2 separate regions of the Homo sapiens genome follow, and region 1 is linked to region 2. Evidence: promoter capture Hi-C in 16 types of primary human blood cells and fetal thymus (Javierre and others, 2016). All regions are on one chromosome and are shown on one strand. Each heading gives the region's core, a stretch centred on a gene start or on the middle of the fragment in contact. The rest is flanking DNA. Distances are from core to core; before and after follow the strand shown.

Region 1 (4,358 bases), core at 307-2,806, 250 kb before region 2:
TTATAGCCTTCCATGTTAAACTATAAGTAAATAATTAGTTTTAAAATTGTTTTGTATTTTCTTATTCCTGTTCCCTTTACCCTTTGACAACTTGAAATGTTACCACTTCGTCCTCATGATGTTCTTCTATCAACCCTGCTTAGGATGAGAACAAGTTGAGCAGTGCCAACGGCCATGAAGAACGTAGCAAAAAGTGAGTTTTAAGAAGGGGCTTGGGGGAGGGTGGTGAGCTTTTTTGTGGTTTTAGACCTTAAGTTGTGTTCCTGTGGCTAAAGTATACAAAATTCTCTTCTGAAGCTTTTCTTTGCTGCTTTTAGAAAATTGGTTCTTTGCCTTTTGAGACAAACTCTTGGAGGAACTGTGGATTTTTTTGCTTAGATTTCAGAATATAGTTTCAGATACCTTCCCCTCCAAGTCCATCATGACAATCTGGTGACAAGTTCTGTATTAGAGGTTGTCTTGTTTTAAATTTGTTAACTTTGGTTTGATATTTGGTTATCTTACTGATAAAACTGTTATATATCCATTGATCTTAAAAGGTAGAAAGAGTTAAATTAGGTGATAACTAGGCCATGGAAAGTATTGTTTGCCCTAAAGTGCCGAAGGAGTCAAAGCTGTGAATTATTTCTGCAACTTGCTGCTCAGAGGCCCTTTTGGAAGTGATGGAACAGGTACTTAAGTACTTCTAAAGGTGGCTTTCATTATCTTAGGCCTTTTAAACTCTAGACTTAACAGGGTGGGGATTTTGGAAATTATGAATATATCTGTACACTTTATTTGGGTAAGATGAGTGACTCAATAGAACTCTGCTATAGACTAGTACAGAAAACAGTGTACGAAAAGTCTTAGGTAACAGATATGATGAGATCCACTTTTTTTTTTTCTTTTCTTGTGAGTCGGAGTCTTGCTCTGTAGCCCAGGCTGGAGCGCAGTGGCGCAGTCTGGGCTCACTGCAACCTCCGCCTCCTGGGTTCAAGTGATTCTTTGATTTTTTTTTTTTTCTTTGACATGGAGTCTGGCAGTGTCGCCCAGGCTGGGGTGCAGTGGTTCTATCACGGCTCACTGCAACCACTGCCTCCCAGATTCAAGTGATTCCCCTGCCTCAGCCTCCGATTAGCTGGGACTACAGGCGCGCGCCATCACGCCTGGCTAATTTTTTTTTTATTTTTAGTAGAGAGGGAGTTTCACCGTGTTAGCCAGAATGGTCTCCATCTCCTGACCTCTCATGATCCTCCTGCTGTGGCCTCCCAAAGTGTTGGGATTACAGGTGTGAGCCACCGCGCCTGGCCTTTTTTTTTTTTTTTTTTTTTTTGACACGGAGTCTTGCTCTGTTGCCCAGGCTGGAGTGCAGTGGTGTGATCTCTGCTCACTGCAAGCTCCGCCTCCTGGGTTCATGCTATTCTCCTGCCTCAGCCTCCCAGGTAGCAGGGACTACAGGCGCCTGCCACCATGCCTGGCTAATTTTTTGTAATTTTAGTAGAGACAGGGTTTCATTGTGTTAGCCAGAATTGACCTTGTGATCCGCCTGCCTTGGCCTCCAAAAGTGCTGGGATTACAGGTGTGAGCCACCGTGCCCAGCCTCTGTCTTTATTTTTTCTTTGAGACAGAGTTTCGTTTTTGTCACCCAGGCTGGAGCGCCATGACACGATCTCAGCTCACAGCAACCTCTGCCTCCTGGGTTCAGGCAGTTCTCCTGCCTCAGCCTCCCGAGTAGCTGGGATTACAGGTTCCTGCCACCACGCCTGGCTAATTTTTTTTTTTTTTTTTTTTTGAGATGGAGTTTCAGTCTGTTGCCCAGGCTGGAGTGCAGTGGCGCAGTCTTGGCTCACTGCAACCTCTGCCACCCGGGCTTAAGCGATTCTTCCGCCTCAGCCTCCCGAGCAGCTGGGATTACAGGTGCCTGCCACCGCACCTGGCTAATTTTTGTACTTTTGGTAGAGATGGGGATTCACCATCCTGGCCAGGCTGGTCTTCAACTCCTGACCTCGTGATCCACCTGCCTTGGCCTCCCAAAGTGCTGGGATTACAGGCGTGAGCCATCATGCCCAGCCAATTTTTGTGTTTTTAGTAGAGACAGGGTTTCACGATGTTGGCCAGGATGGTCTCCATCTCTTGACCTCATGATCCGCCCGCCTTGGCTTCCCAAAGTGCTGGGATTACAGGCGTGAGACATGGACCCAACTGAGACTCCGTCTTAAAAAAAAAGTCTGGGCTTGGCGTGGTGGCTCACACCTGTAATCCCAGCACTTTGGGAGGCTCAGGCGGGTGGATCACAAGGTCAGGAGATCGAGACCATCCTGGCCAACATGGTGAAACCCCGTCTCTACTAAAAATACAAAAATTAGCTGGGCGTGGTGGTGCACGCCTGTAGTCCCAGCTACTCTCGGGAGGCTGAGGCAGGAGAATCGCTTGAACCTGGGAGGCAGAGGTTGTAATGAGCTGAGATTATGCCATTGTACTCCAGCCTGGAGACAGAGCGAGACTCCGTCTCAAACAAACATAAAAATCTGTCATACTTACGACCTTATGTTAATGAAAAACGAGAGAAAAATAGCCATTTATTTGATTTCTTTTTGGCTCTTTTCCTCCTAAGATCCCTAAATGCTTCATAGTAAGTATGTCAGTCTTTCTCACTACAACTGTGTTAGGTAGGTTGATAAAATTTCATAAAACAGATGAGAAAATATATAATGTTATTCAGGGCTTGTTAAGCCACTATTTTTTTTTTTTGTAGTTCCCCTAAAATAATGTGGTAATGGATTAAAAATGATATAATTTGTAGAAAATGTGCTCCTTTTTTCTGGTATAAGCTTGGATGGGAGTCATTTATAGTTCCTCACCAATCACAAGAAATTGTGGGGATCAGGTTGGGTTTAGTCTTGATGTGGGATCTGATGCAACCAACCAGAGGTATGGTTTATGTCATCTGGTTTTAGACTTTCTGCCACAGTAATGGTTTCCTAATGTTTTTGTTTTGCAATTCTCTAATCAAAAGAAAACCCAGGAAGGTGTATCCATATAAATTGACATAAATTATCCAATTTAGGTGTCAGGCCGAGTGGCTAAAGATTTCGCTTCAAGTGCCAGAAGGATAAGAACGTACACTTTTGGGTACAGACCTTCGTTACTGTACCATTGTCTCATGTCGCTTTTTGCCACTAAGGTCATCTCCGGTGTCTACTTGTTTTTATCCTGTGTATAAGCTGATTAAGGCTACAAGCTTTTACAAGGAAGCTGAGCATCAAGTTCTCCATGTGTGATATTCGGTGGCCTTTGTCTAATGTAGAGAACCACAGGACTAAATAGGAGAATGGACAATTTTCTTTAACCATGAGATTGTCTAAGGGAAGATCCTTTCAAAACACTTTGGTAATCTTAAAATACTTTCCAGTCAGACTTCTCGTCAATTATAGGTGATAAATAAATGATTCCCTTGTTCAATCAGGACTCTTGATTTTCTGAAGGAACTTTATGTTTCAAATTAATTTTAAAGTTACCTGGAAGAAAATTTTTGTATTTAGGAATAGATATAAAACATACAGAACACTCTGCTTTAAACCTTTAGTACTAAATTAAATTTCTTAACCAAAGGAAAGTGCCGTGTTGCATTTTTCATTCTAAAACTTCATTGTCTTAAAAGCCACATTGAGCTATAGTTTGTTAGGTAGTAGAAAAATGGCATGTTCTGAGAAACAGTTGACTGAGTATAAATTTTTTTAATTGTATAATTCTGATTCTTAACATACACTTCATAGTATCCTAGAATAGTAAAAGGAACAAAGTTATTGTGACACAGACTGGTTGTCAACCTATTTTCTGAAGAGCTGTAAACCTGAGTTTTTGCATATGTCAAGGTATGCATCCTAAGTGCTTGAGCTTGCCCTCATGGGAATATTATTTGTTAAAGTAACCAGTTTTGCAAAGTCTAAATCAGCGTCCATTCCGTTAAGCTCTTTAGAGAATTACTCAATAAAAGATAACATTAAAATGACACAGTTGAAATATATTGGCTACTGTGGTGTGGATTATCTATAAATTTTGGAATAAATGACTTTTCTATTTTTTTTCTTATTTTCCAGAATACTTTGCATTAAAAATTTAGATCTTCTTACATGGAAGAGGTCAAATCCAGTTATAGCAAAACACCTTTACTGCAGAGGCCATATAACCAAAAAGTCCAAAGGCCCAGCCCAGTGGACCATTTACTTCAGTGATGTTCAGTACAAAATTTCACTGCCATTAAAGACTTTGGAAAGTCCCTTTTAAGTTGTAACAGGATTTGACTATTAGTGTGGATTTCGATAACCCTTCTTTAGTTAATGTAATAAATGCTCTTTGAAGCTGGAAATATACTGGTT
Region 2 (4,039 bases), core at 607-3,106:
AAGAATTGCTTGAACCTGGGAGGCGAAGGTTGCAGTGAGCTGAGATAGTGCCACCGCACTCTAGCCTGGGTGACAGAGCGAGACTCAGTCTCAAACAAATACATACATACATACCACCCAACAGTTTCCCATTGCTCTTAGAACAAAATCCAAGCTCCTACAATGGCTGACACAGGGCTTCTGGCTACCGCTCCACTCGCCCCTGAGTTTATCAAGCTGGAGCCACACTGCCTCCTTTTTGTCCTTGAACTTCCCAAGCCCTCTTCTGTGTCCCAGGGCCCTTGCGACAGGTGTTTCCTCTGCCTAAAGTGTTCTTCACATGGCAGGCATTTTTTTTTTCAAATGGCTTGAGATATAACTCATATACCATACAATTCACTCATTTAACGTATACTGTGTAGTGGGTTTTAGGATATTCACAGAGTTGTGCAACTATCATCGCAATCAATCTTAGAACATTTCCATCAATCCCAAAATAAACCCCGTGCCCATTCACAGTCAATCCCCATTCCCCACCCCATTCCCCACCATAAATCTGTTTTCTGCCTCTATAGAGTTGCCTATTCTTGGTGTTTCATATAAATGGAAGCATATCATATAAAATATATGGCTCTTCCACTTAACCTGATGTTTTCAAGGTTCACCTATGTTGTATCACGGAGCTGGTTTCTTTCTAACCTTCAAGTCTCAGCTCAGATGTTACTTTCTCAGTGAGGCCTTCCCTGACCACTAAGTGCAAAGTGAACCTCCTTTGACTCACTCTCAGTTGTATCATTCTATTTCCTTTACAGCACTTATCACAAACTGTAATAATCTCATTTACTTTGTGTCTGCTCATTTGTCATCCATTTCTGCCACAGGAATGTAAGTTCCTTGAGAGCAGGGGCAATGTCTGTTATGCTGACTGCTGTGCCACACCTTTTTTTTTTTTTTTTTTTTTTTGAGACTCGCTCTATCACCAAGGCTGGAATGCAGTGGCGTGACCTCGGCTCACTGCAACCTCCGCCTCCTGGGCTCAAGCTATTCTCCTGCTTCAGCCTCCCAAGCAGCTGGGATTACAGGCAAATGCCACCACACACAGCTAATTTTTGTATTTTTGTAGAGATGAGGTTTCACCATGTTGGCCAGGCTAGTCTCGAACTCCTGACCTCAACTGATCTGTCCGCCTCAGCCTCCCAATGTGCTGGGATTACAGGGGCCTGCCACCATGCCCGGCTAATTTTTGTATTTTTAGTAGAGATGGGTTTCACCATGTTGCTCAGGTTGGTCTTTAACTCCTGACCTTAGGTGATCCACCCACCTTGGCCTGCCAAAGTGCTGGGATTACAGGCGTGATCTACCCTGCCCAGCCTGTGCCATACCTTTATGTACTTGTCATATGTCAGCACCTAGCACAGGGCCTGGCACATAAGAAGTGCCCAAGAACCCTTCATGGTCGAATGGGTAAATGAGTGCCCCTTTCTCCCCTACTCCCGAGACCACCCTCCATACCTGCTCCTTTAATTTCTGGACTTTCATGTCCTGCCTCAGTCGTTCCAGTTGTTGGCTGGCATCTGCTAGCTCCTTCTGCGTCTGCAGCAGTGTCTCCAGGAGGGATACTCTCTCCTTCTCTGTTTCCAGCTGCATCTGTGGAGGGGTAGGGGGGTAACAGCTTGTGGGCTCAGGATTACCATGCTCACCAACGAGGCCACAAGCACATCCCAGCTGCCCTAGGGCTCTCCTAGCAAATGGGAAGGGGCTGAGGGCAAAGGAAGGTCTGAGCCCATGGGTTCAGAACAAGGAAGTGCAAAGATTACCACTGGTTTGCAAGCTGACAGGATGTGGTACATGTCAGCCCTCCCTCAGGAAGTATGACATACTGCCGGAACTGTGGCTAATGGTGCGGACCACCCTGCTCACTGTTAGCAAAGTGGGTAGCTACCCTCTCTTCTGGAAGCCCCTCTGCAGCACTCCTCTTGGGAGTAGAAAAGGAAGTGGTCAAGGTAAGGAGATCGCTGACTGGACGTGCAGCTCCAATCCTCCTAGCTTCCCACCTGGCATAGGGCACTCTCTGCCTGGGTCCGTTCTTCTTCCCTCTGGGCCTGGATGGCCTCCATTTCTGTCTGCTGCTCCTTTAGCCTCATTTCCAGCTCCATTTTTTCCCTTTCTAAGCTCTCCAGAGCCTTTGCCAGCTCCTGCTGGTGCCAGGAGCGCTCCTTCTCCTGGCCACATGAAGGAAACACCATTAGAACCAAATGGGTGAGGAGGGGAGGCAGGGGTACTGGATTGGAAAAACAAAGTCTCTCTACTACTCACTAGTGGGGTGACCTTGGTACCTCTCTAAGCCTGTTGCCTCATCTGTAAAGCAAGGCTAATATTCCCTGCCTTATCTATCTTACCAAATTTCATGACAACCAAATGAGATTCATTTTAAAAAATAAAATTATATAATACATGTGGAAGTACCTTCCAAACTGCAATTGTCCCTTATATATGCTACAAGTATCTGGGTTTTAAAATGTATTTCTATTTTTAATTTTTTTTTGGAGACGGAGTCTTGCCCTGTCACCCAGGCTGGACTGCAGTGGCACGATCTCCGCTCACTGCAACCTCCACCTTTCAGGTTCAAGTGATTCTCCTGTCTCAGCCTCCCTAGCAGCTGGGACTACAGGTGCCCCCCACCATGCCCAGCTAATTTTTGTATTTTTAGTAGAGATGGGGTTTCAACATGTTGGCCAGGCTGGTCATGAACTCCTGACCTCAAGTGATCTGCCTGCCTCGGCCTCCCAAAGTGCTGGGATTATAGGCATGAGCCACTGTGCCTAGCCTAGGCATTCTTATTTTTAGAGATGGGGTCTCACTATGTTGCCCAGGCTGGACTCGAACTCCTGGGCGCAAGTGGTCCTCCTGCCTCAGCCTCCTGAGTAGCTAAGAACACAGGGGCATGACACCACACACAGCTCCGTATTTGTTATCTTTAAAGCAGCCACATTGTGGTTGACAGTTGTAACAATGAACTGAGGCGGCCAATTCTGGCTGTCTGCTGCCTGCTCTCCTCTACTCAGAGTTGCAGAGTTAGCCCCTGAAGAATCAGGCCTGGCCCAGTGAGGATGTCTCCCTGTATTATATAAGAGCATTAGGATAGGGGTGCTTCTTGTCTTAGCGGTCTTCCAGCAACCAAAGCTTTCCCAAGCTCTCTGACTAGTTCAGGACCCTCTATTAGGTGTACAGGATAGAGGTGAAGGGCTCTGGAGTTGGGCTGCCTGGGTGGAGAATCTTTAATCTACCACTACTAGCATGATCTCAATTTCTAAACAACTCTGTGCCTCAGTTTCTTCATCTATTAAAATGGGGATAACAACAGTGTCATTCTCCTCAGGTTGTATTGAGGATGGAGATAAGTCATGTGAATCACTTTAAATGTGCGTAGCACACAGAAAGCGGGCAATACACAACAGCCAGCATCATCATCACATTAGTATTCCCTGCACTTTTCCTTTAAAATGCTTGTAAGTTTGTCGTTGCTTATTCATGTAATGGGAACGCCTCTAGTGTTTCAGCCTTCCCAGTGTCATCCTGTGCAGCTTTCCCCCTCATTCACTACACCCTGGCTACACACACTTGCCTCCTTGCAGGTCCTTGAGCACACTAAGCACTTTTTTTTTTTTTTTGAGACAGAGTCTCACTCTATCGCCCAGGCTGGAGTGCAGTGGGGTGATCTCGGCTCACTGCAACCTCTGCCTCCCAAGTTCAAGTGATTCTCCCGCCTCAGCCTCCCAAGTAGCTGGGATTACAGGCGCCCGCCACCACTCCCAGCTATTTTTTTTGTATTTTTAGTAGAGACATGGTTTCACCACGTTGGCCAGGCTGGTTTTGAACTCCTAACCTCAAGTGATCTGCCCGCTTAGGCCTCCCAAAGTGCTAGGATTACAGGTGTGAGCCACTGCACCCAGCCAACATGTTCATGCCTTAGAGCCTTTACTCATGCTTCCTTCTACCTGGAAAGCCCTTCTCCCCCCTACTCCATCATTCCTCACGCCTAAACTAACACTTCCTTGGT

The links. Contacts are between HindIII fragments. The CHiCAGO score rates a contact against its expected background, and 5 or more counts as called.
Region 1: a fragment that was not itself captured here is called in contact with the fragment with the promoter of CEP250-AS1 in region 2 in 1 of 17 cell types (erythroblasts); the score reaches 5.3 in erythroblasts.

What each region holds. Positions count from the first base shown.
Region 1 is chr20:35,734,803-35,739,160 of GRCh38, reverse strand. It overlaps RBM39 (RNA binding motif protein 39), which reads left to right. Exons shown (of 17, transcript NM_184234.3): 3 at 144-193. Among named protein-coding and RNA genes, the nearest start is that of RBM39, 5.3 kb to the left of the region's middle. The HindIII fragment of the contact is 2,513 bases long and covers 300-2,812 here.
Region 2 is chr20:35,488,799-35,492,837 of GRCh38, reverse strand. It overlaps CEP250-AS1 (CEP250 antisense RNA 1), which reads left to right and starts at 1,856. Exons shown (of 3, transcript NR_184017.1): 1 at 1,856-1,982. It overlaps CEP250 (centrosomal protein 250), which reads right to left. Exons shown (of 35, transcript NM_007186.6): 21 at 2,034-2,201; 22 at 1,492-1,626. RefSeq lists an enhancer at 1,898-2,057. The HindIII fragment of the contact is 5,140 bases long and covers 1-3,164 here.